3 separate regions of the Homo sapiens genome follow, and regions 2 and 3 are each linked to region 1. Evidence: promoter capture Hi-C in 16 types of primary human blood cells and fetal thymus (Javierre and others, 2016). All regions are on one chromosome and are shown on one strand. The core of a region is centred on a gene start or on the middle of the fragment in contact, and the rest is flanking DNA. Distances in the headings are between cores, read along the strand shown.

Region 1 (3,643 bases), core at 845-3,344:
CCTTTCACCGACTTCACAACCTTGAACCTTGGGGCTCTTTCAGGGCAGCCATCGAAACCCTGATAAGAAGACTGAGAAACAAACAAAACACTCAAGGTGAGAGTTTGGTATCTTAACCCTTGACCTCTTTGGGAACTTAACGGGAGGAGGGAATGGGTTAAGAAATATGCAGCACCTATAGTCAGGGCCACCCATCCAAAGACACATTAAATATTAACTACACCACTGACTAAAATACTAAATACTGCCAAGCCTTGGAGGAGAGGAAATAAAGAACAGTTCAAGTTCTGGCATCTGGAGATGGTGGGGTGGGGAGAGGGCTCCAGCTCCATTCCAGGTTGGCTTGTCTGTACCTTCTAATCAGACCCAGGTCCCTCTCATCCTCCTCCCACGAACCCCCCACATGTCCTCCAAGAGCTTTGCCTCTCTGCCTACTAGTCAAAGAGGTTTCCTGTCTTTCAATCCAGGTGTCTTTGCTTCTTGTTGACTACCCAGAAATGTGCCTTGGGCTGGAAAATATCCTAAGAAAAATAGCAGAATGACTAAAACTTGCACAGTTTGCATATCTGTCTCCATGAACACATGGGCAAGTTTCTGTGTGTGTTTAGGCAACATTATCATCTTCCCTTTCACCAGTGTGTTTGAGGGAAGGAGCAGGTAGAAATACCCTCTGCATAGCAGAGCTTTGTTAGACACTGCCAGTGGTCTTTATTCCTAAATTCACCATCTAGGGCAGCCCTCAGTCTGTGAGTGTGGGGTGTTGGCTCTGTGGTGTGAGGTGAGCTCAAGCCTAAATCTCCAGTTGCCAGGACTGGAAAACCCATATATTCACTCAGGGCTGCGTGTGCCAGGCCCTTGAGCCTGGCACTGAGGGCTTCCCACTTCCCTCTTCTCTGCAGCAGGAGGAAAAGAGTCAAAGTTAGGGACCAAAGGGTTAAACCCCCCAAGATGGATAATGGAGAGGCAACTTGCTACTCTGACTCGACTCCTACATCTGCCTTCCTTCTGCAGGTAAATCTGCCACACAAACTGCCAACTGGGACACCTGCAGGAAAACAAACAAAGCCACCACCCTGGTCTGCTTCTCTGTCTGTGGACTCTGCCACACTACCTTGGCTTGAGCCCCACTTGGAACTCTAACTAGACTTGACATGCAGCCACGAAATATTCATGTGGGTGAGGCTCGGCACAGCCAGGTAGCTTTCTGTTTGCCAGTCTCTGTGTCTATTAACAGGCTGAGTCAGAAAGTTAATTGAGTAGAATCCAAATAAACTTGACTTTGCAGCTAGATTATCCATGGGTTTTCCAAAGATGAGCTGGTAGCTGAAGTTTTCTCCATGTGCCCCAACCTCATATCCCTTTACAAACAACCTAGTACAGCTCATGCCTAACACACCTGTACACAGAGAGCTCCATTATCACATGAGCATGATCAAACACACACACACATTGCACCCATTATTTAAATAAAGATCGACACCGAGTTGGTAAAGCCACGGGAGAATTTCCTGTTACAGTCGCTATGGAAAACCAAGATACTCTCCCCCATTTTGACTCCCTCTATTTCAACTGTTCTTTTCTAAAATCACAACTCAATTTCAATTGTTCAGAGATGGAAATTTCCAAAACAAATCTATTTTCTTTTTCTTGTTGTTTGCACAATATGCCTATCCAACCTAAAGGGATAAATGAAAAAGAAGGTGCCTCCCAGCCCCAGTCTCCACAAAAACACTACAATCTCAAGTTGCTACCAACCTGATCTGATCCCAGAATGGACTCAGAGAATTGAGGAACAGAGAGGAAATCTCCCTAGCTGGGGTATAGAGGGACACCTCCCCTCCCCTGTAGCTCTGATTTCCCATGAAACCCCTTCCTATTGCTATAGGATAAGCAATAGTTGGTTAGTGATTAACTCACCTCCACTGGGTTGGGGGCTGAAGAGAGAAAAGAAATACCCTTTTGTTTCAAAGGGCAGAGATGGAGACAGAGGCTGCTTCCCCTGCCTCCTACTGTTTTCTTCTCCTTTTGAGCTCCTCCTGACTTACCTAGATAGGTAAATGCTTCATCTGTGCTGCCTGGCCCCCACCCTGCCACTGACTCAGCCAATCCTAGCCTCCCCTCCCTACCTCTCATTCCAGCTGTTTCCTCAGGGAGGGAATGGGAGGGGAATGAGCAGGGTGGTGCTGTTCCCTCTTAGCCAATCATCTCCTACCCTCCCCTTTCCTGTTTAGAGCTAATAAAGAGCTCTTTAAAAAAGGAGGGCTGGAAGGAGGAGGAGCCGGTTTGGGCTGAGACTGGAAGGACAGGTGGCAGGGAGGGAGTAGGCAGAGATAGTATATATATTTAATGTTGATATAAAGGAACGCAGACAGTCCTCTGGGCAGTGTGCTTTTCCATAGGTCTATGTGAAACAGGTTTTTCATCTAGAACTACCTTCTTCCGCTTGGAGCTTAGTTTTCCCCTGAATTCTCTAGGCTAAACTCATTTGTGTTCAGTTTTGCTGCTAGCTTTTCTAGATGTTGAAAGTCACTTTCTTCCCCAAGCCTAATCCTAGCTCATAAGCCTAGCAATTCCATTCATGTCCACTGAAGAAGGTGTCCCCAGGCTAGGGATGCTGTAGTTGGGCCAGTCTCGCCCCAGTGCTTGCCAACAATCTCCTTGGCCTAATTTATTTCTGGGGGAAATAAAACCATTCATCCCCTAAGAGGTCCGTGTCCTGATGAAAGAGTGACTGGACAGCTTGAAAGGAGAGAGCATGCACTCTGTCATTTGGTCCTCTGCTCTCTTTTGGCTGTTCATGGAAGGTGGCAATACATATTATGAAATAAAAACAAAACAAACTACCAACCAGTTTAGCAACTCTTGTCTCCTTTCATGGACTGATACTTGGCATTCGTAGGGAGAAGAGAGTAGGTAGAAGAATCTACTATTTTTGGGAAGAAATTTCCCACCAGGTACAGAGACCACTCTTAACAGATATGATTTTTGCCTGGAAGCTGGTTTTTCCTACAGGTAGATTATCCTTGATAGGTATCAGGATTTGAGGTATTCCACTTACTAGCATTAAAAGGTCAGGGAGAAAATTTAAAATCAATGTACACAATAATTGCCAAAATGTATTAAGCTCTTGCTATTTGCTAGGTATTGTGCTGAGCATTTTCATGTATCTTTTAATTTAGTCTTTAACTTAAAAAAGTAGGCATTTGTTAATATCTAAATTTTACAGGGAGGTTAAAAATCTTTTTCAAGGCCATGTAGCTAGGAAGAGGCAGGGCAGAGATTTTAATTCAGGCAGTATAACATCAAGGTTGCTATGAATCAGCATAATGCCAATCCGCCTCTATTTTGGAAGGAATCTCAAGTGGGAATCATGAAATACACAGATAATTTGCAAGTGTAATTCTAGCTATTAGATTCGTCCTTTTCTGTTTCATTTCCTACTTAAAGCTATTAATATGTTTTATAACAAGACGACACATGGCTTTCATCTTTTCTCTTTCTGTGATCATGGTTGGATAGGAAATAAAAAGGGCAGTGATCCTGGGGCCAAGGTAAAGATGAAGTGGAGCAGGACTAATGGATAGGAAGGAGGTTGGAGGAAGCCTGGGATAACCCAGTACCCTATCAGCAGCCTATGGATATC
Region 2 (3,643 bases), core at 710-3,209, 610 kb after region 1:
TAGCCATATTTTTTCTTCTATTCTTTATAATAATTTTTCTCATGAGAAAAAGGTATCTTTCTTCCAAGCCTGAAAATAAATGGAGAATTTTTAATATCTATTGATGTGGAGAAAAATAAATAGACTATCTGCTTTCACAAATAAGTGCTGGCATTGAGCCACAGAACATGTCTGTCATATTGCTCTTTCACACCATACATTAACAGGAATAATAATTTCTCCTCATTGAGTTTCCTATTTACTATCCCCTTAATTATACCTCCTTTAATTACTGTCATAGAGTGTCTGAATTTTATAATCCAAGATACTAAGATGTTTATTTGATATACCACCAGACTCAATGTCTTGTATTCTATGCCAAAAATTTGAAAATGTTTGGGAAGAGGAAATTCCGTGGTTTGGTGAACCCAGAAAGTCTTCAGTACATCTCAGTTATAGAACTGTATTAAATACATTTAAACTCTATAATTCCATAAGACCCATTTTAGGTTTATACACTAAGCATCTAATTCCTCACTATCCTCTCATACAAACCCTGTGTAATACAAGTTCTACTCCCATAATTCTATGAACAAAACAACAATTGATACATAGATTTGATTTTTAAAATACATTTTCTTTACCTTATTCTAAATGTAACATAGGGTCAACATAGAAAAAGAAAACTGAAAAGCACAAGGAAAGTGAAATATCTATAATCTTAACCATTGTTAATTTTGTTGTGTTCCAAATTAGTGTATGTATATATATATATATATATATAGCATTTTTGTTTTAATAAAAGGACTGCCAAAATGCACATGCCAATTTGGACTCTGCTTTTTCCACTTACAATGATATCATAGTTTCTCACATTTGGTATTCTTTTGCAATACTTGCTGCATAGAATTCCATCACACAAAGGTAACTGCCTCCTTATTACTTTTGCTAGACACTTAGGGTTTACATTTTTTACAAAAATTATAAATCTTTGATCACAGCTCTGATGATTTCTCTGGGAACTGAGAGCCTAACACAAGTCATTTCCACTTTAAGACTTTTAACATTCTGAAAAGTTATGTTACAAACAGAGTGCTGGTCCCCCTGCAACATGTTCACTCACATTGGCTGACGTTTTAATTCTTTGCCAATCTGAGGGGAAGAGATGTCAACTTTTTTTGTTTGCTCTTTTAATGCCAGTCATGTTCCCTTTTTTTTTCCCCCTTTTACCAGTCATACTGGCTTACTCAGAACCCTACAAATCAATCCTGCTCATTCTTAATTTTCCAACATTGTTCCTGAGATTGTTTCACCAGAAAAGTTCTCCCCCTTATCCACTTCGCCTAACAATTTCTACCCATCCCAATCCTCCTGCATTTATTGCTTCCAGGAATTTGGCACTTAGGACACCCTTGTCCTTACATTGTTCATGCATGTATATTTCGTCTTCAATAAAACATTTAGTTGCTCAAGGGCAAGGGTCCCATAGAGTCTCAATATGCTAACGGCCTGGTGTTGCTTAATAATTTAGATTCTGACGGGTCCTCTCCAGGGAGGGGAGCAAAGGGCAAATTATCTTAGGGGCTGGGAGTGCAGAAGCCAAACCTTTGAGACTGTGAAAAGAAGACGGCGCCGAGACGATTCAGTAGCAGGCATTCAAGCAAGAAAAACTCAAATATTGTTCCCAATAATGCCTGACTAATGCCAAATACCAAGTAAGGGCCCAGGCAGTCCTGACAGCCTGCAGTGCCCCAGGATAAAACTAACCCTGAGGGGTGCTAGCCCACGATAACCCCCTGCCAGGGCTCTGGACACGCCCTGTCTCCTCGAAGGCCAACGGGCTGCCCCTGCGCGCCGAGGCCCCGCCCCGCGGCCCGCCGATTGGCCCCAGCCGCCCCGGCGCTAAGACTCAATTTCACACTACGCGCCCAGGCCACGCCCACCTGTCATGCGGCCCTGGAAACTGTGAGTTTGGGGATTGTTGTGTCCACTAACCGGACTCAGAAGGGACTTCCCTGCTCGGCTGGCTTTCGGTTTCTCTGCTCACCTCCGGATAAATCACGGGGTCTCCCGCGCCGCTCATGGCGCCTCCCGTCCGTCTCGAGCGTCCCTTTCCTTCCCGGCGCTTTCCTGGGTTGCTTCTGGCGGCCCTGGTGTTGCTGCTGTCCTCCTTCTCCGGTAGGACCCCGGGGTGGATTCGCGCGTCCGCGGCGAGGCTAGAGCTCTGCTCAGTCAGTCGGGCAGGAGGCGCGGGGCGAAGCTCACTGCACGTCGTGCCTGCTTGGGATAGAGAGCGAGGCCAGGGTTCTCCGAGGGGTGCCGTGCTCAGATCCCGGGGGTATGTGGCGGGGGATGCGGGAACCACGCAGAAGCTTGTTTGGTGGCATCGTGTGCGCGGCCGACATTTACGCAGGATCTGGCTGCGTTCCCAAAAGAAGCGTGAATCGTGTTTTCGGGATTGAGCCCAGTCAGCAAGGGGAGGGCTTACTGGGCGCCCCAGGTGAGGGCTTGCTCTGGAGTGCACAGGTGCGTGGGATTGTTGCTAGAGCCCGTGCTGTGCCCGTGGTGAGAGTTTGCCCTGTGTTCCCTTGGTGCCTTGGTGAGTAGGGTGTTCATTAGGGCTTGGACAGTACCCGCGGTAAGGGTTGCAGTGCGTCTGCTGTGCCCCATGGGCTGGGCTGGCCTGGGCTGGGCTGGGCGAGCAGGGGCCTGGCCAGGTGTTGCTGGGAGCGTGCTGTGCGCAAGTGGCCTGTGTGCGGAGTTCACTGTGGGCAAGACAGCTCACTGTTTGCTTTGAGTGGAGCGAGCGCGGACTCTGCGGCTAGGGAGGGCATGTTGAGTGAGAGCAGGCTCTCAGTGCCTGGGGTTAGAGAGGTGGTAAGGGCGCACCATGCTTTTAGTGCCTTCTGTGAACAGTGTCCGTGTTGCCTGAGATCGTATTGGTCTTGAATTTTAAGTGGCTGCTTTTTTGGGGGGTGGGTGGGCCATCGAGTCATCTTCCTGTTCCCAACCAATATAGACAGTATCTGATTCCATTGCCTAGTGGCTTTTTGACATTGTTTTCCTTCTTTTCATTAGTTTGAGTCATATTTGAGAGATGTGAAGCAACCTAAAAAACACTGGTAGCCAAACCTAGTGAGAAATTAGTATCCTAACAAAGGAAGGCAGATAATGTTAATCTTGTTTTCCCCTACAGCTCATAAACTGAAGCTTAAGGCCTATCCCACTGTTTTGTATTTCATTGAATGGAATCAATATTTTTAAAAATGCATGCTAGGCCAGGCCCAGTTGCTCACACCTGTGATCCCAGCACTTTGGGAGGCCCAAGTTGGGTGATTGCTTAAGCCCAGGAGTTCAAGATCAGCCTGGACAACATGTCAAAACCCCATGTCTACAAAAAATAAAAAAATTAGATGGGCATGGTGGTGTATGCCCGTGGTCCCAACTACTCCAGAGGCTGAGGTGGGAGGATCGCTTGAGCCCAGGAGGAGAAGACTGCAGTGAGCTGTGATCATGCCACTGCACTCCAGCCTGGATGACAGTGTGAGACCCTGTCTCAAAAAAAAAAAAAAAAAAAAAAAAAGCCAAAAAATACATGCTTAAATACAGGCTTATTGTGCAAAATGAACAAAATAAAAGGACAACTGTTTTTAATATTTTGTTA
Region 3 (3,643 bases), core at 563-3,062, 530 kb after region 1:
AGTTTATCAATGTAATAAGGCTGTTATTCTAACTTTATTATTATATATAGATTCGTAATTATTATTCCCTTGGCCAGTTTAACAGTGAGAAAAAAGTTGTTTTCACACAATTAGCTGTACTTTGTTTCTCTCTCCCCAGTATGTCAGCCACCTCCAGATGTCCTGCATGCTGAGCGTACCCAAAGGGACAAGGACAACTTTTCACCCGGGCAGGAAGTGTTCTACAGCTGTGAGCCCGGCTATGACCTCAGAGGGGCTGCGTCTATGCGCTGCACACCCCAGGGAGACTGGAGCCCTGCAGCCCCCACATGTGAAGGTGACTAGACTCTTATCTGGCTTGATATTTTTAGCTTGCGTCTTTATTCTCCACATGCCAGTGATTTCTGTTCGTTTTTCTTTATCTCCAGTGAAATCCTGTGATGACTTCATGGGCCAACTTCTTAATGGCCGTGTGCTATTTCCAGTAAATCTCCAGCTTGGAGCAAAAGTGGATTTTGTTTGTGATGAAGGGTGAGTATGAGCTTGCCTGACCTGCTGGACATTGAAATTGGGGTTGGGAATCAGTCTAAAAAGGGGAGATTTGGTGTGGCTTAAAAGAAAGACACACACACACACACACACCTTCAGAGAGATGAACTTTCGAAAGTATACCTAGGAAGAAAGGAAAGAAACATATAGAACTAATAACATGAGATATGAAGAGGAAACTGGAACATATATTAACTGGCAAGTTCAAAGGCAAGTATAACTAGTGGTTATGAATATATAGGTAACACATTAAGCAAAAAATATCAGCCAGGCACGGTGGCTCACGTGTGTAATCCCAGCACCTTTGGGAGGTTGAGGCAGGCAGATCACCTGAGGTCAGGAGTTGGAGACCAGCCTGGACAACATGGTGAAACCCTGTCTCTACTAAAAATACAAAAGTTAGCTGGGTTTGGTGGCATGTGCCTGTAATCCCAGCTACTCCGGAGGCTGAGGCACCAGAATCACTTGAACCTGGGAGGTGGAGTTTGCAGTGAGCCGAGATGGCACCATTGCACTCCAGCGTGAACAATGAGTGAAACTCCATCTCAGGAAAAAAATCATATTTTACAAGCAAAAGGGAATATGAGTAATTTAGAGAGTCCCAGGAAAAATTGCAAGTAATGAAAAGCTTATTATTAAAAGCTAGGATCCTTTAAGAATCATTTCAGTAAATTCTTTAAACCATCAACAGTGAAATTTGTAATAGGACTGAAAATGTAAAAATCAGCATTTTTTTAAAAATTCAGTCATATATCTTCTGGCTAGTCATGGGCTCTGGGCTCTGAGCTGGGGTCGTGATGGCTGCTGTTAATATTCCCAGCAAGGTCATTACCTTGTTTATGTCCATCTAGTGCTCTTCACAGCGTGCACATCTCTACACAGGAGCTGACCGGCATGGGCAACAAAGCACCTGATCCCATAATGTAACACAGAATCTTGGCAGCCTCCAAATGCCAGCACCCAGTAAGAGTTAGGAGGGCATCAGGGTCCAAAAGACTGAGAATTTTCGACAATTGCATACAAAAATCATGTCCTCTCTTCTTTCCTTTTTCCCCTAGAATATTCATGCTTACTCTTCAGCAGCCCAAACTGCCCTTTTGAGCCTTCTTCACGCCATCACAGATGTGGAGATGAAAGGACAATCTCTGTTCTCTCGCCAGCTATTTCCCACTTTTCCACTCCAAACTGGGAGCTGTTTTACTTGCTGTTCCAGGGTCAGAGTTAGGAAGGCATTACATTAGAAGACTGGGTTTCTAATAACAACAATGAGTGATTTATCAGGTTATCATGGAGTAATCAGTGAAACTCCAAGCCTGGGTCCTGGGTCAAGGGGATGGCGCCTATGTCATGACCACCTTTTTCAATTCAAGCAGGACTATCATGTGACCAAGCTACTACATTTTGCCATTCTATATTGTTCCCTTCTGGAGGCTGTGATTTTTCCAGAATAAGGTAGCCTGTGCAACTCTGCCATCTGCTGGCCTCAGATCCTCAAAATCCTGAAATTGGGGCTGGGCCTTAGATTGTGAACTAAGTGTCCTCTTGGCTGAAACAGCTCACTATTCACTCCTATTTTCTTCTTTAGATTTCAATTAAAAGGCAGCTCTGCTAGTTATTGTGTCTTGGCTGGAATGGAAAGCCTTTGGAATAGCAGTGTTCCAGTGTGTGAACGTGAGTAATAGGAGCAACATTTCAGGCCAATCTCTCCCCTTCATCTGTTCACTATTTGTCCTATGGCCTCCCTCAATGTGATTCTTCAATATTCTAGTCTTAATTATCGATTTAAAAATAGTTTATTTTAATAATGTTTGGTTGTGAATCAATATGTACATCACCTGTCTTTGCAACCATCTGATCTGTCTCTGTCCTTCTGCATTCTCTGTTCTAGTGCGATAAATCCTTTGGTCTTGTGCTCCTAGGTCAGGAGAGATTAGATAATGTGAAGCTTTAACAATTTTCTTTCTTTCTCTAGTTTTTTCTTTCTTTTTTCTCTTCCTTCCATCCTTCAGTTCTTTCTTCCCTTCTTCTCTCCTTCTCCCCTTTCTTCTTTCCTTCCTCCCTTCTTTCTTTTTCATTTTGTTCTCCCATCAAAGTGCAGTCAGTCTACAATTTATATATATATGATAATACACAAATATTGAACATGGCTTTATTTAATCAATATTTATTGATCACATACTTTGTGCCTGATGTTCATCTAGCCACTGGAGTTATATCAATGAACAAGATGGATGAATTCCCTGTCCCCATGTTGTTTCTACTTAGGTGGGGAGAGGGACAAGAAAAAAAATAAATTCAATGCTATGAGACAATAGAGCAAAGCACTGAGGAATGAGGCAAAAATGGGGAGCAACATTAGACAGGGTGAGCAGTTTGAGACTCCTTAAATTCTCAAAACATGTACCTAAATAATTTATGCTGAGAGATTCATAAATAATAAGTCATTTTTTTAAAATGAGCCTCATATGTTCAATAATCAGTAGACTACTGATTTCTCCTAGTCTACCCATGTATAATTTCCCCAATGGAAGATAGAACTTTGCTTCAATTCTTGATTCTAATGATTGGAAAACGTGTTTCTTTAGAAAATCATGAAATTTTACTAAAATGTTTATGTTGTTAGAAATATACTTGGACATCTTACAGTGATTTTTAGAGTAAAATTTTGGAAGAACATAACTTATATAGAGATTCTTGCTGTCTAAGAAATCCAGTGCTCCTTGAAGCAGTATGACAAGTGTCTGTTCTACTATCATGAATGAAAGCTCATTAACTGGACTACTCAAGCTTTCTCTTATTTTTCATAACTCTTGCTAGTTAAAATAGTTTCTTCCAAATGCCAGTTCTAATGAAAAATGCCAATTAGAAATGAGGAAGAGACTGTTCTAAACAAATCATTAGATGCTAGAAAGGAGTAACAACTTGAAACCTGACCCAGAGAGTAAAAAGAGAAAATAAATCATCAACAGACCTAGACATTTTCAAAAGCAAAGCCATCTGAATCCATTTGGAGTTTTTTTTTTTTTTTTATCATGGCCTGACTATGTTTCAATTCACTGTGACAGGGCTATTGTTATCACTGAGATTGATGATCAATATCAATAAGTAATCAGTG

The links. Contacts are between HindIII fragments. The CHiCAGO score rates a contact against its expected background, and 5 or more counts as called.
Region 2: the fragment with the promoter of CR1L here is called in contact with the fragment with the promoter of C1orf116 in region 1 in 11 of 17 cell types (neutrophils, total B cells, megakaryocytes and 8 more); the score reaches 12.6 in neutrophils.
Region 3: a fragment that was not itself captured here is called in contact with the fragment with the promoter of C1orf116 in region 1 in 4 of 17 cell types (naive B cells, total B cells, endothelial precursors and 1 more); the score reaches 5.2 in naive B cells.

The regions. Positions count from the first base shown.
Region 1 is chr1:207,030,662-207,034,304 of GRCh38, forward strand. It overlaps C1orf116 (chromosome 1 open reading frame 116), which reads right to left and starts at 2,095. Exons shown (of 4, transcript NM_023938.6): 1 at 1,918-2,095. The HindIII fragment of the contact is 5,727 bases long and covers 1-3,643 here.
Region 2 is chr1:207,643,174-207,646,816 of GRCh38, forward strand. It overlaps CR1L (complement C3b/C4b receptor 1 like), which reads left to right and starts at 1,960. Exons shown (of 12, transcript NM_175710.2): 1 at 1,960-2,157. The coding sequence starts at 2,061. It also overlaps the pseudogene CD46P1. RefSeq lists a silencer at 1,760-1,929 and an enhancer at 1,990-2,069. The HindIII fragment of the contact is 2,525 bases long and covers 1-2,349 here.
Region 3 is chr1:207,563,725-207,567,367 of GRCh38, forward strand. CR1 (complement C3b/C4b receptor 1 (Knops blood group)) reads left to right here. Exons shown (of 47, transcript NM_000651.6): 22 at 140-316; 23 at 408-510; 24 at 2,114-2,199. Among named protein-coding and RNA genes, the nearest start is that of CR1, 69 kb to the left of the region's middle. The HindIII fragment of the contact is 1,317 bases long and covers 1,155-2,471 here.